Regions from separate parts of the Homo sapiens genome. Here regions 1, 2, 3, 4 and 5 are each linked to region 6. The links are contacts of gene promoters, found by promoter capture Hi-C in blood cells and fetal thymus (Javierre and others, 2016). All regions are on one chromosome and are shown on one strand. Each heading gives the region's core, a stretch centred on a gene start or on the middle of the fragment in contact. The rest is flanking DNA. Distances are from core to core; before and after follow the strand shown.

What was found. Contacts are between HindIII fragments. The CHiCAGO score rates a contact against its expected background, and 5 or more counts as called.
Region 1: a contact is called between a fragment that was not itself captured here and the fragment with the promoter of C6orf62 in region 6, in 1 of 17 cell types (fetal thymus). The highest score is 7.4, in fetal thymus.
Region 2: the fragment with the promoter of H4C12 here is called in contact with the fragment with the promoter of C6orf62 in region 6 in 2 of 17 cell types (M0 macrophages and neutrophils); the score reaches 7.0 in M0 macrophages.
Region 3: the fragment with the promoter of H3C11 here is called in contact with the fragment with the promoter of C6orf62 in region 6 in 1 of 17 cell types (fetal thymus); the score reaches 7.3 in fetal thymus.
Region 4: a fragment that was not itself captured here is called in contact with the fragment with the promoter of C6orf62 in region 6 in 1 of 17 cell types (M2 macrophages); the score reaches 6.2 in M2 macrophages.
Region 5: a contact is called between a fragment that was not itself captured here and the fragment with the promoter of C6orf62 in region 6, in 1 of 17 cell types (fetal thymus). The highest score is 8.7, in fetal thymus.

Annotation. Positions count from the first base shown.
Region 1 is chr6:21,594,780-21,598,808 of GRCh38, forward strand. It overlaps SOX4 (SRY-box transcription factor 4), which reads left to right. Exons shown (of 1, transcript NM_003107.3): 1 at 1-3,840. The coding sequence ends at 1,180. Among named protein-coding and RNA genes, the nearest start is that of SOX4, 3.0 kb to the left of the region's middle. RefSeq lists silencers at 533-622, 673-722 and an enhancer at 1,533-1,732. The HindIII fragment of the contact is 3,762 bases long and covers 1-3,160 here.
Region 2 is chr6:27,828,540-27,832,947 of GRCh38, forward strand. H4C12 (H4 clustered histone 12) reads right to left here and starts at 3,021. Exons shown (of 1, transcript NM_003541.3): 1 at 2,635-3,021. The coding sequence starts at 2,988. The coding sequence ends at 2,677. RefSeq lists enhancers at 1-201, 2,472-2,581, 2,505-3,330. The HindIII fragment of the contact is 8,845 bases long and covers 1-4,408 here.
Region 3 is chr6:27,869,660-27,874,104 of GRCh38, forward strand. It overlaps H3C11 (H3 clustered histone 11), which reads right to left and starts at 2,687. Exons shown (of 1, transcript NM_003533.3): 1 at 2,186-2,687. The coding sequence starts at 2,656. The coding sequence ends at 2,246. H4C13 (H4 clustered histone 13) reads right to left here and starts at 3,875. Exons shown (of 1, transcript NM_003546.3): 1 at 3,489-3,875. The coding sequence starts at 3,851. The coding sequence ends at 3,540. RefSeq lists enhancers at 244-883, 884-1,521, 3,437-4,074, 3,506-3,555, 3,856-4,025 and 1 more. The HindIII fragment of the contact is 2,761 bases long and covers 184-2,944 here.
Region 4 is chr6:20,206,829-20,211,090 of GRCh38, forward strand. The region is part of intron 1 of MBOAT1 (membrane bound glycerophospholipid O-acyltransferase 1); the gene reads right to left. Among named protein-coding and RNA genes, the nearest start is that of MBOAT1, 3.5 kb to the right of the region's middle. The HindIII fragment of the contact is 1,766 bases long and covers 1,751-3,516 here.
Region 5 is chr6:20,528,619-20,533,167 of GRCh38, forward strand. No RefSeq gene overlaps it. Among named protein-coding and RNA genes, the nearest start is that of CDKAL1, 3.6 kb to the right of the region's middle. The HindIII fragment of the contact is 271 bases long and covers 2,579-2,849 here.
Region 6 is chr6:24,716,084-24,720,435 of GRCh38, forward strand. It overlaps C6orf62 (chromosome 6 open reading frame 62), which reads right to left and starts at 3,071. Exons shown (of 5, transcript NM_030939.5): 1 at 2,457-3,071; 2 at 65-241. The coding sequence starts at 2,585. RefSeq lists an enhancer at 3,752-4,352 and a silencer at 4,115-4,284. The HindIII fragment of the contact is 3,349 bases long and covers 2,227-4,352 here.

The DNA of each region.
Region 1 (4,029 bases), core at 30-2,529, 3.1 Mb before region 6:
CGACATGCACAACGCCGAGATCTCCAAGCGGCTGGGCAAACGCTGGAAGCTGCTCAAAGACAGCGACAAGATCCCTTTCATTCGAGAGGCGGAGCGGCTGCGCCTCAAGCACATGGCTGACTACCCCGACTACAAGTACCGGCCCAGGAAGAAGGTGAAGTCCGGCAACGCCAACTCCAGCTCCTCGGCCGCCGCCTCCTCCAAGCCGGGGGAGAAGGGAGACAAGGTCGGTGGCAGTGGCGGGGGCGGCCATGGGGGCGGCGGCGGCGGCGGGAGCAGCAACGCGGGGGGAGGAGGCGGCGGTGCGAGTGGCGGCGGCGCCAACTCCAAACCGGCGCAGAAAAAGAGCTGCGGCTCCAAAGTGGCGGGCGGCGCGGGCGGTGGGGTTAGCAAACCGCACGCCAAGCTCATCCTGGCAGGCGGCGGCGGCGGCGGGAAAGCAGCGGCTGCCGCCGCCGCCTCCTTCGCCGCCGAACAGGCGGGGGCCGCCGCCCTGCTGCCCCTGGGCGCCGCCGCCGACCACCACTCGCTGTACAAGGCGCGGACTCCCAGCGCCTCGGCCTCCGCCTCCTCGGCAGCCTCGGCCTCCGCAGCGCTCGCGGCCCCGGGCAAGCACCTGGCGGAGAAGAAGGTGAAGCGCGTCTACCTGTTCGGCGGCCTGGGCACGTCGTCGTCGCCCGTGGGCGGCGTGGGCGCGGGAGCCGACCCCAGCGACCCCCTGGGCCTGTACGAGGAGGAGGGCGCGGGCTGCTCGCCCGACGCGCCCAGCCTGAGCGGCCGCAGCAGCGCCGCCTCGTCCCCCGCCGCCGGCCGCTCGCCCGCCGACCACCGCGGCTACGCCAGCCTGCGCGCCGCCTCGCCCGCCCCGTCCAGCGCGCCCTCGCACGCGTCCTCCTCGGCCTCGTCCCACTCCTCCTCTTCCTCCTCCTCGGGCTCCTCGTCCTCCGACGACGAGTTCGAAGACGACCTGCTCGACCTGAACCCCAGCTCAAACTTTGAGAGCATGTCCCTGGGCAGCTTCAGTTCGTCGTCGGCGCTCGACCGGGACCTGGATTTTAACTTCGAGCCCGGCTCCGGCTCGCACTTCGAGTTCCCGGACTACTGCACGCCCGAGGTGAGCGAGATGATCTCGGGAGACTGGCTCGAGTCCAGCATCTCCAACCTGGTTTTCACCTACTGAAGGGCGCGCAGGCAGGGAGAAGGGCCGGGGGGGGTAGGAGAGGAGAAAAAAAAAGTGAAAAAAAGAAACGAAAAGGACAGACGAAGAGTTTAAAGAGAAAAGGGAAAAAAGAAAGAAAAAGTAAGCAGGGCTGGCTTCGCCCGCGTTCTCGTCGTCGGATCAAGGAGCGCGGCGGCGTTTTGGACCCGCGCTCCCATCCCCCACCTTCCCGGGCCGGGGACCCACTCTGCCCAGCCGGAGGGACGCGGAGGAGGAAGAGGGTAGACAGGGGCGACCTGTGATTGTTGTTATTGATGTTGTTGTTGATGGCAAAAAAAAAAAAGCGACTTCGAGTTTGCTCCCCTTTGCTTGAAGAGACCCCCTCCCCCTTCCAACGAGCTTCCGGACTTGTCTGCACCCCCAGCAAGAAGGCGAGTTAGTTTTCTAGAGACTTGAAGGAGTCTCCCCCTTCCTGCATCACCACCTTGGTTTTGTTTTATTTTGCTTCTTGGTCAAGAAAGGAGGGGAGAACCCAGCGCACCCCTCCCCCCCTTTTTTTAAACGCGTGATGAAGACAGAAGGCTCCGGGGTGACGAATTTGGCCGATGGCAGATGTTTTGGGGGAACGCCGGGACTGAGAGACTCCACGCAGGCGAATTCCCGTTTGGGGCTTTTTTTTCCTCCCTCTTTTCCCCTTGCCCCCTCTGCAGCCGGAGGAGGAGATGTTGAGGGGAGGAGGCCAGCCAGTGTGACCGGCGCTAGGAAATGACCCGAGAACCCCGTTGGAAGCGCAGCAGCGGGAGCTAGGGGCGGGGGCGGAGGAGGACACGAACTGGAAGGGGGTTCACGGTCAAACTGAAATGGATTTGCACGTTGGGGAGCTGGCGGCGGCGGCTGCTGGGCCTCCGCCTTCTTTTCTACGTGAAATCAGTGAGGTGAGACTTCCCAGACCCCGGAGGCGTGGAGGAGAGGAGACTGTTTGATGTGGTACAGGGGCAGTCAGTGGAGGGCGAGTGGTTTCGGAAAAAAAAAAAGAAAAAAAGAAAAAAAAAGAAAAAAAAAAGATTTTTTTCTTCTCTTAATCGGAATCGTGATGGTGTTGGATTATTTCAATGGTGGGGTTAATATAGCATGTTATCCTGTCTATCTTTTAAAGATTTCTGTATAAGACTGTTGAGCAGTTTTTAAAATAGTGTAGGATAATATAAAAAGCAGATAGATGGCGCTATGTTTGATTCCTACAACGAAATTATCACCAGCTTTTTTTCATTCTTAACTCTTTAAAGGATTCAAACGCAACTCAAATCTGTGCTGGACTTTAAAAAAACAATTCAGGACCAAATTTTTTCTCAGTGTGTGTGTTTATTCCTTATAGGTGTAAATGAGAAGACGTGTTTTTTTCCTTCACCGATGCTCCATCCTCGTATTTCTTTTTCCTTGTAAATGTAATCAGATGCCATTTTATATGTGGACGTATTTATACTGGCCAAACATATTTTTTCTTTTGTCCCTTTTTTTCTTTCCTTTCTTTTTACTTCCTTTATTTCTTTATTCCTTCCTTTTCCTTTTTTTCTTTTTTTTTTCTTTTTTTTTTTTTTTTTTTGGTAGTTGTTGTTACCCACGCCATTTTACGTCTCCTTCACTGAAGGGCTAGAGTTTTAACTTTTAATTTTTTATATTTAAATGTAGACTTTTGACACTTTTAAAAAACAAAAAAAGACAAGAGAGATGAAAACGTTTGATTATTTTCTCAGTGTATTTTTGTAAAAAATATATAAAGGGGGTGTTAATCGGTGTAAATCGCTGTTTGGATTTCCTGATTTTATAACAGGGCGGCTGGTTAATATCTCACACAGTTTAAAAAATCAGCCCCTAATTTCTCCATGTTTACACTTCAATCTGCAGGCTTCTTAAAGTGACAGTATCCCTTAACCTGCCACCAGTGTCCACCCTCCGGCCCCCGTCTTGTAAAAAGGGGAGGAGAATTAGCCAAACACTGTAAGCTTTTAAGAAAAACAAAGTTTTAAACGAAATACTGCTCTGTCCAGAGGCTTTAAAACTGGTGCAATTACAGCAAAAAGGGATTCTGTAGCTTTAACTTGTAAACCACATCTTTTTTGCACTTTTTTTATAAGCAAAAACGTGCCGTTTAAACCACTGGATCTATCTAAATGCCGATTTGAGTTCGCGACACTATGTACTGCGTTTTTCATTCTTGTATTTGACTATTTAATCCTTTCTACTTGTCGCTAAATATAATTGTTTTAGTCTTATGGCATGATGATAGCATATGTGTTCAGGTTTATAGCTGTTGTGTTTAAAAATTGAAAAAAGTGGAAAACATCTTTGTACATTTAAGTCTGTATTATAATAAGCAAAAAGATTGTGTGTATGTATGTTTAATATAACATGACAGGCACTAGGACGTCTGCCTTTTTAAGGCAGTTCCGTTAAGGGTTTTTGTTTTTAAACTTTTTTTTGCCATCCATCCTGTGCAATATGCCGTGTAGAATATTTGTCTTAAAATTCAAGGCCACAAAAACAATGTTTGGGGGAAAAAAAAGAAAAAATCATGCCAGCTAATCATGTCAAGTTCACTGCCTGTCAGATTGTTGATATATACCTTCTGTAAATAACTTTTTTTGAGAAGGAAATAAAATCAGCTGGAACTGAACCCTAAATCTTGACTTTTGTCGTTATTATGCCCAATGCCTAAGATTGGAAAGGCCCTACAGTATCTGGACACTACACAATCTGCCTTAGCTTTAAAAAAATAAGTTCTCAGAGGAGTCTTGTCAAATGCTACCTTATCGAGGAACATTAAATGTCTCTTGGCCAGATTTCCTCTGACCCTGAAAATGATGGCATCA
Region 2 (4,408 bases), core at 1,771-4,270, 3.1 Mb after region 6:
TGTCAGATCTGGAATTGCTAAGTGGGCCTAAATAAAATTTTTTGCATATAAATAATGTTTCTCTTTAAGATGTAAAAAATAATATATATATTTTAACTATGTATGTCTATACATATAAATATATATATATATGTATATATATATATATATTTTTTTTTTGAGACAGAGCCTTAGTCTGTCACCCAGGCTGGAGAGCAGTGGCAGGATCTCGGCTCACTGCAACCTCTGCCTCCTGGGTTTTCGTGCCTCAGCCTCCCAAGTAGCTGAGATTATATACGCAGGCCACCAGGCCCAGCTAATTTTTGAGTATTTTTAGTAGAGAAATTGCCTCACCATGTTGTCCAGGCTGGTCTCAAAGTCCTGGCCTTAAGCAATCTGACTGCCTCATCCTCCCCAAGTGCTAGGATTATGGGCATGAGCCATCGCACCAGGCCAAAAACACATTTTTAAAGTTAAGACTTAAATGTTGTTTTATAATTTTACACCACCAAAGTGATGTGACACGGTGAAAAATTTAAAGCACAATCATAAGAAGCAGATTATTTGCAACCAAATCTGTAACAATAATATTCTACTTGTGGGATCTTGGGTTGAGGTGCATATGCTCTCTAAGCCTCGATTTATTTTTGTAAACAATTATGTGATGATGATAAAAATAGTTCCCAGCTCTAAGGGTTGTTGTAAGGATTAAATGAGTAGGGCCGGGTGGCTCACGCCTGTAATCTCAGCTTTTGGGGAGGCAGAAGTGGGAGGACAGCTTGAGCCCAGGAGTTGGAGACCTGAAAAAAAAGACAAACAAGTGTAAATGAATTGGTAAATAAAAAACACTTAGAACACTGACAACAGTAAGTGCAGTGTGAAACACTTAGCATTACTTTTATGCCAAATTCATAACCTGTAATTGCATCTGACCATCATCCCTGGGTAAGAGCAATCTTTTTTTTTGTTTTGTTTTGTTTTGTTTGGCGACACTCTGTCACCCAGGCTGGAGGGCAGAGGTGTGATCTCGGCTTACTGGAACCTCTGTGTCCCAGGTTTAAGCGATTCTCAGCCTCAGCCTCTCAAGTAACTGGGATTACAGGTGTGTGCCACCACGCCCGGCTAATTTTTTGTATTCCTAGTAGAGACGGGGTTTCAACACATAGGCCAGAATGGTCTCCAACTCCTGGCCTAAAGCTGTCTGCCAGCCTTGGCCTCCCAAAGTGCTGGGATTACAGGCATGAGCTACTGCATCGGGCCCAGAGAGCAACCTTTTCTAACAGCCACATTTTAGTACTCTAGATTCAGCCAGGAGTTGTGTAATTAAACCTTTGTCTATTATGAAATCATAGGAAATACCTGTGTCAAGTGCATTTTTTCACACAATTTTTGCAAATGGAGACATCTTCATTATTCCTATAGTATCATATGTTTTTAAAGTTTGTACTCACACTTTGGGTGATAAATGAAGGACAAGATCCTTCCCTATCCTTGTGAGGATGACTACAGCATGACTGGATGGGCTTGCTATGATTTTTATCTTTCCCTGTGTTCTCACTACCGTTTTATTAATCTCAGTTCTTTTTCACAGGGTAGCACAGAATTTAACTAGCAGAAAGAGATCCAGCCATGTAGACCAGAGATTTGTCTAAGTGACGGCATGTAAGAATCAGGAAGGAAAGTTTTTTGTTTAAATACCAACAGGTTCCTTCCTTAAAGCAATTATTATTTTTCAAATCTAACCCACAAGGTGATAGTATCCTTAAACCAATTAAATCAGAATCTCGGGTTGGATAACCTCAAATATGACTTATTAGCACTTCCCATTAATCACTGGTCCTTCAGGCCTTTAAGTTTACTTACTAGGAATCTCACTTTTAATACCATCTTATCAACTTCAGTTGTAAATAAGAGAACACTCAAAGGCTGAGGAATTCTCAGCGGTAAAGCTCTGCCCACGTTAAGTAACAAAGGATAAGTTAGTCTTTGTTGTGATCACTTTGTTGTACTGATAAGCTACGTATTTCTACTCAAGGATTCAAATTCTCACCTTTCTCAAGAATTGGGCCAAAACCGATAAACTAAACTTATTTACGGTCCACTGATTAAAGGTTGTTGCATAATAAGTTCTTGCTATGTTCAGCAGTTGGATTCACAGCGCCAGAAACCTATAACTGCTTGACTTTCCTCCCCACTACACTGCGAAAATTGCCCCTTAAATGTAACTAACCCTAAAACCTCAACAGTATCGTGGCCAGGCGTGGTGGCTCACTACTGTAATACCAACATTAGGCATAGGCGAGGGGATTGAGGCCAGGATATCGAAACTAGCCTGGGAAACACACGGAGACCCGGTCTTTGGAAAAATAATTAGCCTTGCGTGGTGGTGGGCGCGAGGTTCCGGCTAATCGGGAGGCTACAGTGAGCCATGATGACACTGCACTACAGTCTGCGCGACGGCCCATGTCAGTAAGCTCTGGAGCACCTGAAACAAGTTGTGTTGGGTATTTTATTTACTGGAGAGCGATTAGTGACTGATGCCTACTTACAGCGACTAGAGACGCATGCTCCGATAGCAGCACAAACTCAGCAGGCGCGAACAAATGGTAAAGAGAAACTGGGCAAACAAGCATCACGGCTCCTCAGCTGAGAAAGTGGGGGCCCTAAAAAGGGCCTTTTGTTGATAGAAAGGGACGCTCAACCACCGAAACCGTAGAGGGTGCGGCCCTGGCGCTTGAGCGCGTAGACCACATCCATGGCGGTGACCGTCTTGCGCTTGGCGTGCTCTGTATAGGTCACGGCGTCCCGGATCACGTTCTCCAGGAACACCTTCAGCACCCCGCGAGTCTCCTCGTAGATGAGGCCGGAGATGCGCTTCACGCCGCCGCGGCGAGCAAGGCGCCGGATGGCCGGCTTGGTGATGCCCTGGATATTGTCGCGCAGTACTTTACGGTGGCGCTTAGCGCCGCCTTTGCCAAGACCCTTCCCGCCTTTGCCGCGGCCAGACATGACGAGCAAGAGGAGTCTCACCCAACGCTTTGTGAGGACTCTGGCCTGAGGCAGCGCCTTTATACGACAGTTGGCGGACCGAACTGAGAACCTGAAAGAAGTCGGCGGGAAGTCCCGCCCCGGTGGGGGAGGGGAAATCTAAAGGGCCAAACCGAAATAGGGGGAAAAAAAAAGCGAGCTTCTTGTTTCCGTGTTCTGAATTTTGTAACGTGCATAGTATTTTGTTACCACGTTATGAGGCTTTAAAAAATTGCTTTTGAACGCAGAAGATATACATCAATACTGTGGGAAATACAAGAAAGGACAAGAAATTAAGAAACTACAATGTTATCCCATCACACAGGCTAGTTAATCATGTATTTTGCAGAGCAGTTGCACATATTTTTCCAAGAAAATGTATACAGTGTTGTATATGGAGTTTTGTAACCTCCTTATATTGATTATAATTTAACCAATTTCTATTAAAGAGATAAAAGTGATGTTTTGGTGTCTATGTTTCTTAGGAATTATCAATAGTTATAATCAGTTCCCCAGCAATTTTTTAATCGGCTGTATTTTAAAAATAATGTTTTCCACATTCAACATAAATGTACTTTTTCTCTATACTTGGGACCAATATTGAAATTTATGATTTTATTACACCAAAATTTAAATTTTATTACATTAATATTTAAAATTGTATTAGAGGTCTCATGATTTGGTACTACGGGTCTCCGCATTATTTCCTTTCCAAATTTCCTAATCTGTTTCACCAAGGTTTCTGGACAACTTTAGAGACCTTTTGTGAAGTTTGAATAAAATCTCTTCGAGATTTTGATAATTGCATTAGCTTTAGGACTTAATTGGAATAGAATTAAAATCCTTAAAACAAGCTCTTATAACTAGAAAATTGGTGTTTGTAGGTTTTGTGTGTGGGGTTTTTTTTTTTTTTTGGAAGGAGTCTCGCTCTGTCGTCAGGCCGGAGGGCAGTGGTGCAATCTCGGCTCACTGCAACCTCCACCTCCCGGGTTCAAGCGATTCTCATGCCTCAACCTCCGGATTAGCGCGGACTACAGGCATGCGCCACCACGCCCAGCTAATTTTTTGTATTTTTAGTAAAGAACAAGTTTCACCATGTTGGACAGGATGCTCTTGATCTCTTGACATCGTGATCCGCCCGCCTCAGCCTCCCAAAGTGCTGGGATTACAGGCGTGAGCCGCTTCGCTTGGACGCTTGTAGGTTTTTAAAAAGACACTTTTATATGACCCAACTAAAGATTTGTTATCAACCATTATGGAGCAACTTTGATTCCGTATATTTGATTTTCTTTCTTATTAATAAATACAGGGTTATACTCTGAATTTTTTTTTTTTTTTTTTTTTTTGTGGAGACGGAGTCTCGCCCTTTCGCTCAGGCTGGAGTGCAATGGCCCAATCTTGG
Region 3 (4,445 bases), core at 1,437-3,936, 3.2 Mb after region 6:
CAGGTTTCTATTAATTTGCTACATTTACAGCTATACAAGATGAGGCCCAGATAGAGAATTAATAACTTGTCAAAGGTTATACAGCTATGAAGTGGCAGCTCTAAATTTTAAACCTAGAAACATGGCCTCAGCTCTATTATGGAGGGAAAATCCTTGAAGAGGTGAGAAGAGAACTATCTTCAAAGCTTGGAAGAGGCAGTGTCAAGTTGTTCCTACACCTAGCAAACAGCCACTAAAAGAGCTCTAAGTTAATTGTGGGAAGAGGCTTCTGGCCCCATGGATCAAAAGTGTTTTTTTGTTGTTTGTTTTTCTGAATCAAATCTTAAGTTTCCAAAAACTTTATACCTGTATCCAACCCTTTGAATGTGAGGACTTTTTTGTTCATCTGTGATGGTGGATATCACAAAAATTATGCACAGACTTTTCTTTCTTTCCCTTCCTTCCTTTTTTTTTTTTTTTTTTTTTTTTGAGACAGAGTCTCACTCTGTCACCAGGACTGGAGTGCAGTAGCGTGATCTCGGCTCACTGCAACCTCAGCCTCCCAAGGAGCTGGGACTACAGGCGCCTGCCACTATGCCCAGCTAATTTTTTGTATTTTTAGTAGAGACGTGGCTTCACCATGTTGGCCAGGCTGGTCTGGAACTCCTGACCTCGTGATTCGCCCGCATCGGCCTCCCAAAATGCAAAGTGCTGGGATTACAGATGTGAGCCACTGCGCCCTTCCTTTTTCCTTCCTTCCTCCCTTCCTTCCTTCCTTCCTTTGTTTTCTTTCGTCAGCTATCTTTAGTGATCCTGTATTTTAGGTGTGGCCCAAGACAATTCTTCTTCCAACGTGGCCCAGGGAAGACAAAAGATCGGACACCGCTGCACCAGTTGCTGGGATACATGCCTCTTTGCAAGAGTGAATCCAATATGAGAAAGGAAGGCACAGATATGAGGCTGAGCTGGCTGAGAGCACTAGGGAGAAAAATTGCCTTCACATCTCTGCCAGATATCTCCTAGGTCAAGATGTGTGCTTCAAAAAGTTTAAGAGCAAAATGAGGTCATGATAGTCACATATGTAGAGCACATGAGGAAACTCTAAAACAGCTGGAAATAATGGAAAAGTTTGGTTAGAAACCAGGAAGAGCTTTAAAATACCACTTGAAGTTTAATACCCAGACTGATTCTCTCTGAAAAAAAAAAAGAAAGAAAAAATCTCATGAAAATCCAACTCCACAGTCTATGACAAGCATATGGTGAAATGACAGGAAAATATTTTTTAAGGTCCACTTAGAGCTAGAAGTTCATTTCATAGATGACAGCATGCAGTAGGTTAAAGTATCCCTCCTCAGAGGCCCACTACCTAACACATGGCTTGCTAAACATTACATTGAAACAGAACAAAAGTGTCGAGCTTTTTGTCAAAACTGTTACTTGCATGGGGTACGATGGCAACTTTGTTATGTGCATATGCTCCAAGGTGGTCAAGTTACATGGGCTATACAAGAGCTAAATAGCTTACATTGTACCAATTAAGTAACTTATCATTCATTCTTTCCTCCCTTCTGAGTCCTTATTGTCTATTGTTCCACTCTCATGTGTGTAGTTTTTAGAGCCTGTTGTTTTTTGTATTTTTGAGGCGGAGTCTCGCTCTGTAGCCCAGGCTGGAGGGCAGTGGCGCGATCTCGGCTCACTGCAACCTCTGCCTGCCAGGTTCAAGCGATCCTCCTGCCTCAGCCTCCCGAGTAGCTGGGACTACAGGCGCGTGCCACCACGGCCGGCAGTCTTTTTTTTAGTGGACAGGGGGGTTTCACCGTGTTAGCCAGGATGGTCTTGATCTCCTGACCTTGTGATCCGCCTGCCTCGGCCTCACCAGAGCCTGTGGACACTCATTGTGCTACTTGTTCCCTTCAGTAGGGGCAGGTAGATACGCAGGAGACACATTCCTCAAGGATAAAAACAGGAATACTTTTCAAAACTAAACTTCATCTGTAAAATTGACCCCATGACATGTCTTTTTTGAGTGATAATCCTTATCAGTAGGAACAGGTTCTGTATGTGAAATTGATTTAGCATACCAACAGCCTGTGACCTGACTCCTGCATTATAGTGTGTTGGGCCACTACCACGTTTTGTCCACAGCTTGTATTTAACATGGAGCTAAGACACGTCTCAAAAGCTACAGCTTCCTTTTGGTGACAATTGAGGGGCTCTGAAAAGAGCCTTTTGGGGTTGGACAGACTTCTTGGGCTGATAGGAATATTTATGCCCTCTCCCCTCGGATGCGGCGCGCAAGCTGGATGTCTTTAGGCATAATAGTGACGCGTTTGGCGTGAATGGCGCACAGGTTGGTATCCTCAAATAGCCCCACCAGGTAGGCCTCGCAAGCCTCCTGCAGCGCCATCACCGCCGAGCTCTGGAAGCGCAGATCGGTCTTAAAGTCCTGTGCGATCTCCCGTACCAAGCGCTGAAAAGGTAGCTTCCGGATTAGCAGCTCGGTCGACTTCTGGTAGCGGCGGATCTCGCGCAGGGCCACGGTGCCGGGGCGGTAGCGGTGGGGCTTCTTGACGCCACCGGTGGCCGGAGCGCTCTTGCGAGCCGCCTTGGTGGCCAGCTGCTTGCGCGGCGCTTTGCCGCCGGTGGACTTGCGAGCTGTTTGCTTTGTTCGTGCCATGGCTAAGTAGACGTACCTACTCAACACAAATGAGAGAAAAAAACTGATCATCCCGGTATTTATAGCTGCCCTCGCGTTCTGATTGGACAGTAGACTGTGCCATGCCACGTCTCACACACGGAATTGGCTCCCAGTTTAATCTGCTAGTGAAAGGGAGACATTCCGCCTCTGTTTTGGGTCAAGAAACGTAAAATGGTTTTGCTAGCTAAAGAAAAACAAAAACGGAAACAAAAAAAAATCCCCCAAAAGTCTAGGATTTTTCATGCATCAAAATCCTGTTTAAATATAAGCTTGATAAATCTAAACTTGCCTTGCACTATTTTAATTACGAGGTGTCATTACTGATTTGACAAAAAGTTAAAGAACGTAAAGGAAAAGTGAAACTAGAGTAAATTTGTAAATGGAGGCATTGAAGGGGATATGAAATTCGAGCGTTGTGGTATGCCAGTATTTCTCAAATTTAAACGTACTTAATGTTTTAGAAGTTGGCCGACTTTTTCTGTAAAGGGCGATATTAAAACATTTTGGGCGTTGCGGACCACAGTGTCATAGTTACACAGCCCTCGCATTGGTAGCGGTAAAGTAATCGATACAAGATAAATGAGACCGGCTGTTTCATTATGACTTTTGCAAAAACCAGAGAGGCGTTATAGATTTGGCCGTGTATCAGAGAAGCCGGCACTTTTAACCACTAAGTAATGCTGAAAGGGGCACCGAACCTCAAACTTCAGCGACTGCTTATGTGGAATCGCTAATTTGCCAAAACTGCCATACGTTTAAGTGTTCTTAAGAAATTAACTATCTTTAGTCTACAGCTCTTTCACAGACTTCATGGGTGGCCCTGAGAAGGGCCTTTGAGGAACCGTGTAAGTAAGTAAAACACTCAGCCGCCAAAGCCATACAGGGTGCGGCCCTGGCGCTTGAGCGCGTAAACCACGTCCATGGCTGTGACTGTCTTGCGTTTGGCGTGCTCCGTGTAGGTAACTGCATCGCGGATTACATTCTCCAAAAACACTTTAAGAACTCCGCGTGTCTCCTCGTATATAAGGCCTGAGATGCGCTTAACGCCTCCACGCCGTGCCAGGCGTCGGATGGCGGGCTTGGTGATGCCCTGAATGTTGTCGCGCAGAACTTTGCGGTGGCGCTTAGCGCCTCCTTTGCCCAGACCCTTCCCGCCTTTGCCGCGCCCAGACATGTCTTGTACTAAACAAAATGCAACACGGCAAGCCTCGCAGCAGTACTTTATATAGTAATAAATCGGACCTGATTGGGAACTCTCCACACCAGCTGCATCCGGTCGGCCGATTCACAGACCTTGCGCCCTGCCCACGACTTCAGGAAAAAATGGAAAAGGGGGTACTTAAACTCCAGTTTCTAAAAATGATGCCCAGTTAAAAATTACTCAGCTCATCTTGCCCTTCTACAGTGTTTTAGGCTGACCACCGCTGCATTCCATTGTCTGGGTCTTTGCAGCCTGTTTTTCCTGTCACCTCTTAGCATCGATTGTTCTAGTGCTTTGTGGCTGCTGGAATCAAATGGCGCCATCTCTAGAGGGGTAATCACAGTCGTTTCGGGCATTTGTGAAATAGCGTGTAGAAACTGCTTCCGTACAAACTCGAAGTGATCAGCCTATGGAGTGGCTGACTGCAAAAGACGACGCCTGATGATAGCTCCAAGGTGGGATTCCTCACCTTTCTCAAATTTGGTTCTCTATTCTTTTCCTTATATTTTACTCTTTCTGTAGCTGTCCTTTCTGTTCCTTTCTCTCCCTCGCCAACCACATTTTTGG
Region 4 (4,262 bases), core at 1,384-3,883, 4.5 Mb before region 6:
CACCCCGATTTTCATCATCACCCAGAAAGACTTCACTAGAAATCCTTCACTCACATATCCCAGCCCTCCAGCTCTCTCACTTCCTCTGCACCTGCCCTCCACGACCCACCATCGCAAGAAGTTTTCCTCTTCACTCTTACCACCACCAACTACTTGTCAGCATCTTTCAATATCTGAGCTTCTTAACTTCCCAACAACCTTCTCTGAAAATTTCTGTTTCACTTTTGTTTCTGAAAGGAGCTGCTGAAAGAAAAAAAGCACATATTTGTGCATATTCATCCGTCTAAAAATGTATACTTGACAGTAGGTTGATTATACTCAGCAGCTCATTCAATTGACCTTGTCAGTGCTTTCTCAATTTCCCTTAAATACTTCTCTAACCCTGCACTCATCCGCAAAACCCTTGCTTCCTCCTCCATCCCTACTTCCTTCAGTGAGGACCTTCCGTATGCCTTCACAAAATGAAAATCTTTTCACAACTTAAACCCTGCGATGTCCTCCCTTGACTATAGTAATGGCTCTCAAACTTTAGTTGGCATAAGAATCACTCGGGAAGTACCCTCACACCCTGATATTCAAATTCAGCAGGACGGGGCAGGATCCCAGAAACACCCATGGCAGAAGATTCTGATGACAATCCATGCACCATATTTCAGGAGATACGATTATCATGCCAAATCCAGCCCACTGCCTGTTTCTGTGTGGCCTACATGCTACAAATGCATTTTACATTTTAAAGGGTTAAAAAAAATCTAAGGAAGAACATTTCAAGACAGGTGAAAATTCCATGAAATTTAGATGTCAGGATCCATAAATAAAGTTGTATGGGAACTCAAGCCTTGACTACAAAGAGACTTCAAATTAGTTTGGAATTAAGCTTACAAACCCAGCAAGATAACTAACAATATAAGGTAACATTTACCAAGCATCAAATGTAAACAGTAAATTCTACATGAGTCCAGCATGTCCTGTGGGCATCCCTTCTCTGTTCCACGACGGCACCATCTACAAACCTGTGCAGTGCCTACGCAGGTCTGTGAGCATACACAGCCTATATACTTACATGGGCCTTTTGTTTCCTCTAGAGTATATAAGCCCTTGCAGGATGGGGACCTTGATTTTTTTCATCTTTGTATTTCTACCATATGGCCAGGTACCTGGCACTAATAGCATTAAATAAATATTTAATTGATTTAACAATGACTGGAATGTGAGCTGAGCTTTTAATGAAGGACAAGACTTAGATAAGAAGAGAACTGAAGGTTGGGCTTTGCAAGCATGGCCAAGGGAAGCAACCAGGACTGACAGATCCAGGTAGGTAAAGAAACTTTGTAGTCGGCCGGGCGTGGTGGCTCATGCCTGTAATCCCAGCACTTTGGGAGGCCGAGGCAGGCGGATCACAAGGTCAGGAGTTCGAGACCAGCCTGACCAAGATGGTGAAACCCCGCCTCTACTAAAAATACAAAAATTAGCCGGGTATGGTGGCGCGCTCCAGTAATCACAGCTACTCTGGAGACTGAGGCAGGAGAATCACGTGAACCTGGGAGGCGGAGGTTGCACTGAGCCGAGATCGTGCCACTGCACTCCAGCCTGGGTGACAGAGCTAGACTCTGTCTCAAAAAAAAAAAGAAACTTTGTAGTCATGGGCCCAGGTGAAATAATCAAACTCACTCCTGGTATCACCATTAGTCTGGAATGCCACGTCTTTAAAGCTGGTCTTCATTTATCCAGACTTGTAAATGGTGACACAAGCTTACATTAATAATCCTAAACCTTCGCTGTTTTAATCTCAAAATTATTTCCTGGATTCTTATCTCCTGGTCTATTTTCCCCTTGCCCCTTTTTCTGCTGATGCCAAATTAGGGGGAAAAAAAAATACCTCAGAGAGTCCTAGTGTAACACTGAATTCATACTTCATGCACACACACACAGTTTGGGGGCACCATCAGGTGAAATACCCCAAAAATGCTTTGCTGGTGGGCAGAATTTCCAACCACCAAATTGGAAGTTCCTTAAAGCCTGGAAACACTTTCCATTTCAGCTTTCACAGCTCCTAGGACATAATGACGTAACTGTGCACTACACAAATTACTAACATCAACATTATCATATCTGTTTTGGCAACTGAGTCAGTCTTGCAAACCTTTAGTTTAAAGGCACATTAAGTTACACTCCACAACCAAAACAAAGTGAGGAGGACAGGAGCAGATGATTCCTTGATTCCCCCAAAACAGGAAAGAAAAGTGCTTGCCCACTTTATCCTAAGTGAAGGTTTTTATTGGCATAATCCTACCACCTACCATAACTCCATATTTGCTCACTGGACAAGGGCCCATTATTTAGAAATAAAGTTTTCAACAACCTTATCTTTGAAGCATCTATAGAGGCCCCTAAGTCATCATCCCATTTCCTGTATTCTGCATCTGAATTATTATGCGCTATTTGTCTCTAATTAAGGGAGATAATTTTATATTTCACATCTTTAGGAGGATGTCAGACTAATCAAAATCCCTAAAACAAAAACCATAGACTTTTCCTGAGTATAGTCCTAACCACACACAGGCTTTCCTATTTAAGGATGCCACGAAGTTAACAGAACAGATAAATGGAAGAATCAGATGAAAAAGAATGAATAAAGAGTTCTTCACATACGAAGCAGAATGCTTACCAGGTATTTCCATTTTTGCTGATAATAAACTACTTGACACAGGATCCAGAGGCTAAAGACATTCACAGGAGTGCAATTAATCAGGAATTAGGATGTTAAGACATTAGGAAATGATTCAGTGTCCTTAAGAGGCATACAAAAAACTATTTGAGTAACTTGAGATATATATTTTATAATTTTGAGCATATCCCAGGCCAATCAAAAGTCACTCTCTAATGGGACAGGAGCAAACACGTATCAAGGCCTGCACTCTTATCCTCAGGTTACTCCCTAGATCTGCCTCCACCTTTATCCTCCCTATCCTGTGCCACAGGAGGAGCCCCTGCAGGCTGAGGCCTTGGGGGCCACTGTGAAGAGATGGAAGGGCTACAAGGTAGGAAGAAGGGCTGAGGTTCTCTCTCTGATTCTTCATGACCTCCAGGCAGGTCCAGCTCTCACAAATGGCAATGAAGTAACTCCACTTTCCCCTCCAGCTGCCCCCTACTTCTGATCTCAGCATCTCAACATCCTTTGTTGATTCCCTTAAACTTGCCCATACCCCTCTAAGTAATTCATTAAAGTCTGTTCATTTCAGCCAATGGGGTTGGTTCCCGTTTCCTGCAAGGACCCTGATACAAGAACCTTCCTAATGTCGGGCATTTCACATCATATAAAATTTCTCAACCTCAAAAGGTAGGTCTTATTGTCATCTCCCATTTTACATGAGGATGCTGAGTCTCCAAGAGGGTAGAGTACCAGCTGGCAGTCACAAAGGGAAGTTTGCTGGCAGAACTGGAATTGCACCCAGGTCAGTCTGACATCTAAGCCTTTAAAAAGCCTTAAAAATGTGAAAGGGAAAAAACACACAAAGCTTCCAAACTCGCAAGCCACAACGTAGCCTCAAACGACCTTATTTATGGTTTGGGGATTTTCCTTGGGCCTAAAATAAGCTACCTGGGGCACTGCCTTTTAAGTGCTTCTTCCACCAAGGGTCATCCACACTCACTCCTGCTGGAGGGTGGTCAGACTGACCTAAGAGCTAAGAGATCTCAGGTGCTCCTGGCCATGGCAAACATTTCTCCTTCGGTTTATCCCAGAAGTCTCTCCCTCCCTCCCTCCCTCCCTCCCTCCCAGTTTTAAACATTCCTAAGGCTCTTTTGTTCCTTTTTATGAATTAAAACCAGAATTACCTTTATAGGAAAGTAGGGGATGCAATTGAAAGACATTAAAAACATTATTCTAGCACCTCCCAGCCATAACTTGCCATGGTCCTTTAGCCATACAAAAAGCCTTCCTGGAGTCTTTCTAGCTGTGTAGAAGAGCTTAGAAGAGAAAATGCAATTAAAATACCTTCTGATAGGGAGTGGAGAGGTAAGTACAAAACAAACTCCCCTTAAGGAAATTCAGCTATGAGTTTTATTTAATTTCAGAACTAAAGAATTTGCTATTATGTCCGCCTCTGCCTGGGTCCCTGGGTCTATCTCATCCTCACCAGAAACTAAAGAGTAATTTACAAAAGCACAAATGCTTTGGCACCGAAACCCTTCCCAAGTTTCTGACTTTCTGTATTCTGCAACTGATGAGAACGCAATGGTCACATCAGGTGGAGTTCTCA
Region 5 (4,549 bases), core at 1,464-3,963, 4.2 Mb before region 6:
AGTTTATTTAAGAGCATCAGCTTTCTTCCCTTTTATTCTCCACATTGAAGTATCCATCCATTTGGGGCAATTTTTCCTTTCACATATATCTAGTATTTCTCTCGCCGCCCGCCCCCCCCAATTCCTCTGCTGTTACCATATTTCTTCTTGGGTTCATCCAACACCTGAAAAATCTTCCTAAAAAACTGTTCAGTTGGCCAGGCACAGTGGTTCAGGGCTGTAATCCCAGCACTTTGGGAGGCCGAGGCGGGCGGATCACCTGAGGTCAGCAGTTGGAGACCAGCCTGGCCAACGTGGCAAAACCCTGTCTCTACTAAAAATACAAAAATGGGCCAGGCGCGGTGGCTCAGGCCTGTAATCCTAGCACTTTGGGAGGCCGAGGCAAGTGGATCACCTGAGGTCAGGAATTTGAGATCACCCTGGCCCATGTGGGGAAACCGCGTCTCTACTTAAAAAAAAAAAAAAAAAATAGGCGGGTGTGGTGGTGGGCGCCTGTAATCCCAGGTACTCAGGAGGCTGAGGCAGGAGAATCACTTGAACCTGGGAGGTGGAGGTTGTAGTGAGCCGAGATCACACCACTGCACTCCAACCTGGGTGACAGAGCAAGACTCCATCTCAAAGAAAAAAAAAAAAAAGATAGTAGAAGTATAGCACTCTGACCCCTAGTGGTTAAATTATGCAGAGAAAATTCAGCATTTGTCCAAAGACAATAGGAGGTTATTTCACATCATGTTCCTATATGATCTTTTTATCAGTTTATTAAAGAACATCAGCATTCTTCCCTTTTATTCTCTACATTGAAGCACCCATCCATCCGGGGCAATTTTTCGTTTCTCATAGATCTAGTATTTCTCTTTTTGCCCCCCTCTATTCCTCTGCTGTTACCATCTTTCTTCTTGGGTTCATCCAACACCTGCAAAACTTTCCTGAAAAACTGTTTAGTTGGCCAGGCACAGTGGTTCAGTCCTGTAATCCCAGCACTTTGGGAGGCCAAGATAGGCGGATCACCTGAGGTCAGGAGTTCGAGACCAGCCTGGCCAACATGGTGAAACCCCGTCCCTACTGAAATTACAAAAATTGGCTGGGCACGGTGGCATGCTCCTGTAAAAAAAAAAATTAAGAGCACTTAATAGTCATACTTTTCACTTTGCTTATATGTAGCTTATATATATATAAATATAAAAATCTGTTTTAACTCTCATTCTACTAAATTCACCTAATGTTCTACATAGAAAATTTCATGTATATTGTTTATCATCTTTCAAGAGTGAATTAAGCACATGAATATTTTCTCATGAAAAGGGATATTGATTGGTACAGATGTGTATGTATAATGGCTAGTTGCTCAGATCATCAACTAAATCTAAAACATGTGTTCCAGCTGGGCTGGTGGCTCATGCATGCAATCCCAGCGCTTTGGGAGGTTGAGGTGGAGGACTGCTTGAGGCCAGGAGTTCAAGACCAGTCTGGGCAACATAGTGAGACTCTGTTGCTGCAAAAAGAGTTTTAAAATTAGTCGAGCGTGGTGGCATGCCCCTGTAGTTTCAGCTACTTGGGAGGCAGAGGTGGGGGGACTGCTTGAGCCCAGGAGTTCAAGTTTCCAGTGAGCTCTGATGGTGCCACTGTTCTCCAGCCTGGGTGACAAAGCCAGACCCTGTCTCCAAAACATAATCTTAAAAAGCAGTTCCCAATTCTTAATTTTAATTTTATTTATTTATTTTTGAGAGAGGGTCTCATTCTGCTGCCTGGACTGGAGTGCAGCGGTGTGATTTCGGCTCACTGCAAACTGGACCTTCTGAGCTCAAGTGATTCTCCCACCTCAGCCTCCCGAGTAGCTGGAACCACCATGTCCGGCTACTTTTTTGTTTGTTTTGTAGAGACAGGGTCTGGTCATGTTGCCCAGGCTGGTCTCAAACTCTTGGGCTCAAGTGAAACAACTGCCTGTGCCTCCCAAAGTGCTAGGATTACAGGCATGAGCCACCGTGCCTGGCCCCAGATTTTTATAATTTTCATATTTTATTCTTTATTGATTAGTCACTGAGAGGGTAAGAATTGTGTAACTTCTTTCTTGTCCATATTTTCTCTTCAATTTTTACTGTGAAGGCCAACATAAAATATTTAAGGCAAACAGATTTTTTTTTTTTTTTTGAGATGGAGTCTCACTGTGTCACCCAGGCTGGAGTGCAGTGGCGCGATCTCGGCTTACTGCAACCTCCACCTTCCAGGTTCAAGCGATTCTCCTGCCTCAGCCTCCCGAGTACCTGGGACTACAGGTGCCTGCCACCGCGCCCGGCTAAGTTTTGTATTTTTAGTAGAGACGGGATTTCACCATCTTGGCCAGGCTGGTCTTGAATTTGTGACCTCGTGATCCACCTGTCTCGGCCCCCTAAAGTGCTGGGATTACAGGCATGAGCCACTGTGCCCGGTCCAGGCAAACAGATTTTATTCCACTTTTCCTTGATCACTCTTTTGTTTTTTCTCTCCAATGCTTTTTCTCTATTTGAAATTTTGCACTATTGTTGCTTTCTTCTGAAGTATTCATATAGAGTTGTTAAAACAACTGAAGTCAGACTGCCTAAGCTTTAGGTTTCTTCTCTGTTAAAAGAGATAACAAGATAATAATAGCACTCCTCATTTATAGGGTTACTTATGGGTGGTTATTGGCACACATTTATAAGTGTTTGAAAAAATCTTAGCTTTACTATTATTTTATAGATTTACTTGCATTTTTAATGTTCTTGGTATACACCAATTGGTTTGTTTACTTATTACCAAATATTTATAAAGCATTTAGTGTTATATTGTTGGCTGAAAAAACAGGAACAAAATAGGATGGTGTATATTTATGAAGCTTAACTCTAATTTAAGAAACAAAGCATTATTTTTTTTTTTCTTTGAGACGGAGTCTCACTGTGTTGCCCAGGCTGGAGTGCAGTGGCGCGATCTCAGCTCACTGCAATCTCCGCCTTCCAGGTTCAAGCGATTCTCCTGCCTCAGCCTCCCGAGTAGTTGGGACTACAGGCTCATGCCACCATGCCTGGCTAATTTTTTGTATTTTTAGTAGAGACAGCGTTTTACCATGTTAGCCAGTATGGTCTTGATCTCCTGACCTCGTGATCCGCCCACCTTAGCCTTCCAAAGTGCTGGGATTACAGCCGTAAGCCATCGTGCCTGGCCTTTTTTTTTTTTTTTTAATCTTTTTGAGATGGAGTTTCGCTCTTGTTGTCCAGGCTGGAGTGCAATGGTGTAATCTCCGCTCACTGCAACCTCCACCTCCTGGGTTCAAGAGATTCTCCTGCCTCAGCCTCCTGAGTAGCTGGGATTACAGGCATATGCCACCACACCCAGCTAATTTTGTATTTTTAGTAGAGACAGGGTTTCACCATGTTGGTCAGTCTGGTCTTGAACTCTTGGCCTCAGGCGATCCACCCGCCTCGGCTTCCCAAAGTGCTAGGATTACAGGCGTGATCCACTGCACCCGGACTTACTGGTTGCTTTTCAAAGGTTGTACAGATACTATAAATATATTTAACCAATACTCTATTGAGGAGGAGCCGGAGAGGGTTTCCAGTCTTTTGCTATTGTAAGCAATGCTTAAAAAAATACTCTGGAACATAGGTCATTGTAAGCAATGCTTCAAAAAATACTCTGGAACATAGGTCATTGTAAGCAATGCTTCAAAAAATACTCTGGAACATAGGTCATTATGTATATTTCTGTAAGATAAATTCCTAGAGGTAGGGTTACTGACTTCAAAGGATTTAGACTAAAGGTGCTTAAAGAGAGAGGTTTCACCTGTTAGTTAGTTTTTGTAGCCAAAACTTGAAAACATCCTTTCTTCCTCTTTTTTCGTACCTATCAATCACCAAGTCTTGCTGCTGTTACCTCCTCAATTTGTTTAAATCTGTCCTTCCTTCCCATTCCTCCCAGCCAACAACTCAATTTAGGCTTTTACTATTTCTTCATGTCTGAAATATCGTCCTCAAACCCATTGTCCTGAGAGAATAATCTGCTCGAACACATTCATGTTGCCTACTACATACATCCAGGATTAAGTCTAATGCCTTTGAATACACAAGGTTCACCTTGATCTAGTCCCTGTGCTTCCCTTTCTCTGGTAGACTTCTCCCATCACCAGCTTCACTCTCTTTGCTTTTACACTGTGGAATAATTCATCATTTCAGGCCTCCTTGCTTTTGCTCTGGCTGACTCTCCAGCTTGGAATGCCTTCATCCATTTCCCTTACTTCACCTTTGTGTTCCTGTGCATTCATCTTTCATAGTGATTGCTATTCTCTACTGAAATGAATTTTTTCAAAATAGCCTGCAATTGCAATAGGCAGTACTTTTTTTCTTTCTTTTTAGCTCTAGCATCTATCACAGTGCTTGTGGTCATGGGGTACATACTCAGTAAAATATCTTTTACTGAACTCAACTAGATCTTGGGGGAAAAGGGGTGGAGTCATTCATTCATTCATTCATTCATTCAACATATGTTTATTGAGAAGCTATAAACATAGGCACAAGGTTATGTGCTAGGTAGTGCGATT
Region 6 (4,352 bases), core at 1,821-4,320:
GGCGGGGAAATGCAAGGTTAATCCACAGAAACTTTATCAAGTCAAGACTTAAGGCAGAACTTACCCTTCTCATAGACTGATATCGAGGAGCATGGAGCTGTACCACATCCTTCTGTAAAAGCTCTAGGGAACTTTCCAAGGAATAGCTGGAATCTCGCACACCTTTCAGGATATTTTCTTCATAATTATTTGTCATGACTGGTATAACCTCAGACACTTCAAAAAGTGCTGACTTTTTCTTCTAGAAGAAAAGAAAATGGTGTATTAACCCACAGGGAGCACAGCCTTTTAACACTCAGTTCATATTACAATGTCATGTAACATTAACTCCACAAAATTCTTAACTGTCTGCAGTAACTTATACACTGAAAACACATTTTCAGATAGGTAATTCCTTCTGTTCTTCCCCTACCTCCCCCTCCAACCATACATGTACAAACTGTCATTAGAATGTTTAATGCTTGAGTTTTATAGCATAATGGTATCCATAGCACTATTTTGGACAATACTTCTTAAAATTAAAAATCTCACCAGTTTTAAAACAACGCTATTCAGACAAATGAATAGTTTTATTCCTTATATGGGCCAATTTCCATTACTTTCTCAATATTACATTATCAAAACCATCAATATTTCTGGTTTTTCTTTTTTTTTTTTGAGATGGAGTCTCACTGTGTTGCCCAGGCTAGAGGGCAGTGGCACCATCTTGGCTCACTTGCAACCTCTGCCTCCTGGGTTCGAGGGGATCTCCTGCCTCAGCCTCTCGAGTAGCTGGGATTACAGGCCTGCGCCACCACACCTGGCTAATTTTTGTATTTTCAGTAGAGACAGGGTTTCACCATTTGGCCAGGCTGGCCTTGAACTCCTGACCTCAAGTGATCCGCCTGCCTCAGCCTCCCAAAGTGCTGGGATTACAGCCGTGAGCCACTGCACCCAGCCAAAACCATCAATATTTGAAAGACTAAAAAGAAGCACACCAAGTTCTCTTTTAATACTACTCAAGACCAAGTACGCATCACTAAACTACTTTTTAAAATTCTGTACTATTAAGTATATATCATGAATTATTCAGGGCAACTGCATGGACACTGTCCATTCACAGAATAAAACCAGATTATCGTTGGTGTTAAAGAATTAAGATGGTGCAATTTGGGGCAATATATAGATTAAATACAAAGATATGGTCTCACTACTTATTATCTTGGATTTATTTAAAGAGCATACACTGTATCATCTTCAACTAAAATCCAATCTCATCAATTTTGAGTCAGCTTGTCAACAAAACAAAAGTGGAGATGTAAGTCCTTGATACCACCCAATCTTGGGACAGTCACTTCAAAAATTACTTAAAAATCACTTCACAATGCTATACTTCAGCAGCTAAGAATGTTCTTAAATACAAATAACCTTTTAGGAGTTAAGAGTTGGGGCTGTGCGTGGCAGCTCCTGCCTGTAATCCCAGCACTTTAAAATGCCATGACAGGAGGATCACTTTAGCCCAGGAGTTCAAGACTAGCCTGGGCAATACAGTGAGGCCTGTCTCAGCAACAAAAATAATAAGAGTTAAACAGTAGGGGGAAACCTGGAAAACTTCCAGATACTTAATAGATACCACACTAAGATTGTATTTCTGATCTGAAATTAGCTAACAATTTAAGCACCAAAATCCAAGTAGCACTTCCTTACATTCATAACCTCATCTTTGGTCAAATAAGCCTTGCTGATAATTTAAGAAAATGTTCATTTTAAGTTGCAAAAAATACTGCTCTTATCATCCCATCCTTGACTACTCACAACTTACTGTTTGCTATTTAACTGCGGAACTAATTCTGATTAAGACCTCCACCGCCCCTAAAAATGAAACTTCCTCTAGGTCATTTTGAGTTTTTAAAAACTGTACTTCTATACAAGGCAAAATGAACTCTAAGTAAAAAAGAAAATCACACTTCTAAACACAAATTAACCATTTCAGTATTTAATTGCTCCTAAAAGGTGTATTCTACTTCATTAAATGTAAGAGAAAAGGTTACCTACATTACGCAGTTTAAGAAACAGGATAAACTTTAGCATATAAACAGTCTGATTACAATTTCACACTTTCAACCATCTTATTTATACTCTACATTAGATAATCTTTAAATTCCATCATAAGGTTTCCCATGTTAACTCCATATAAAATTTTGTAATCTTGCCCACCCCATGTCAACTCAGTGTATACTACTACTAAGCTTCAGACTCAAATTTATTTCCAAACCAAAGAACGCTCAAGGGTCTTTTCGCATGCTGCAACTGCTCAATTCACAGAATCACCCCTAAGGGTGAAAAAACAGAGCATACAAAGCAGACTTTTTTTCAACCACTCTTTAACCTAATATTCATAATAATTTAAGAGTAACAAATAATATACACTTACAAAAATTACTTGTGCTAATTCACCATTAAGAACTTTAAATTACCTTCTCCTTGAATACAAAGGCAATATACATCTTGAAGTCAAACTGGTCAGCTAGAGATTCTTTTTTCTTTCTAAGCTGAGCACGTAGTCTGTTCAGAGCTTGTTTCTTCCGGGAGTTTGGGTCCCCCATTTTGAAATACAGGTGGTACTAAAGCCTTTGGAAATTGTCACTAAACTATGGGCACTTTTTCTTAAGACTCAAGTACAACAGAAACAAGTCATTTTTTTTCCTGCTAATATGATTGATTAGCGAAAATCACGACTATAACCCAAAAACTGCACCTTCTGTCAATATTAGCAGACTGTCATATTACAGGGTCAAGAAACAAAAGCTGCTGTCCAGTCATGTTTGGACAATAACGTTTGGGGTCAGACGGGAAAAAGGGAGGAAAGAAAGGAAAGAAAGAGGAGAAAATAACTAACTTTCTGGAAAACACATTTGGCTTAACTGCCAAAATAAAGGCTTTGCGGAGAAATGAAAAGCCTATAATCAGGATTTAGGTGTGCAATAAAACACAGCTGACACCAGACCAATCCCTAAAATCCATCCGGATTTTCCCCCCTTTTTAGAAAAGGGATTAAGGAACAGGGAGGGGGAAGTGTGATCCTTGCTTTCCAAAAAAAAAAAAAAAAAAAACTCACCAAAACCAAAACCAAAACCAAACACCAAAACAGGGTAGGTGAATGAAACTGAAATATCCAATTAGATTTTACCCAGCCAGCTCCATGGCTGTAGTACCTAATTCTTAGTTATTTCAGATTTCACTATTGCTATGTATTGTCAGTGCTTGTTATTGATTACACTTGGTGGTGAGCATAGAGAAAAGTGCAAAATCGGTAGAGAAGGAAAGGGAGAGGTACAGGGTTTCCCTGCAATCAACTACAGTGTATACCGGGGGCGGGCAGCTGTGGCCCAAAGGAGCCATGAGAAAAAACAGCGGAGTCATTACCAACTTCCCCATCACCCACATTTTCACCCTCAGGCGGCTGCTAACGCTGCTGCCAAGGAGAATCATGACGGCAGAAGGAAAAGGGGTATATAATACGGTATTAATTATTCCGGCTCTGTGGTTAGACCTGATTAATGCCCGGGTTCCCAACACCCCCAGCCTGCAACTAGTCCTACATTCCCCAAGGGAGACTTCCCTGTGGATCTGCCCCCGTTCAAAATGGTGGGGAGTGCGATTTATCTTCTTGTGAGCATTGCCGAGGCAAAGGTGGCGGGTTCTTCTCCCAAATCCCAGGCGGTGCCCGGAGACCACCTGCCTTCCACCCCCGCAGGTCCCACCCCCACCCCTTGCCTTCAGCGGCAGCGACTCACTCGCACCACGGGAGACACAGGATCACTCAGGTTTTCACTCATTTCATCGTGGAAACAATTCCCGCCCGGGTGGAGTGGGCGGGAGAGGGTAAATGGGAAGGTTCAGTGGGGGAAAAAAAGAAAATAATTGTGTTAATATTACTTCTAAAGTAAGCCCACCCACCCTCCCCCCAAAAAATTAAGTTCCCGGATTAGCTCTCTCTCACGTTGAACAGACCATGTTTCCAGAGTTTGGATTGTTTAGGGTGGGGTCGTTAGTTGTTTCCCGAGGGGCAGGGGGTGGAATTGAGGCAGCTAGGGCGGGGTGGGTGACGGGGAAATCCCCTCCCTGTCCCCGCGGAGCCCGGGACTCACGGACCGACTCTAGGGCGGGGTTTGGGCCCTCTAGCCGCAGCCTGCGGGCGGAGCGGTGGCGGCGGCGGAAGAGGCGGCGGCGGCGGGGGCGCTGCTGGTAGCACGGGCAGGAGCCATGTCAAGAGAAAACCACCAGCCAACTGAGCCCCTCCATCCCCGCTGCAGTGCGCACCGTGACTGGACCGCCCGCGCTGCTGCCGCCGCTCAGCCCCCACCTGGGAC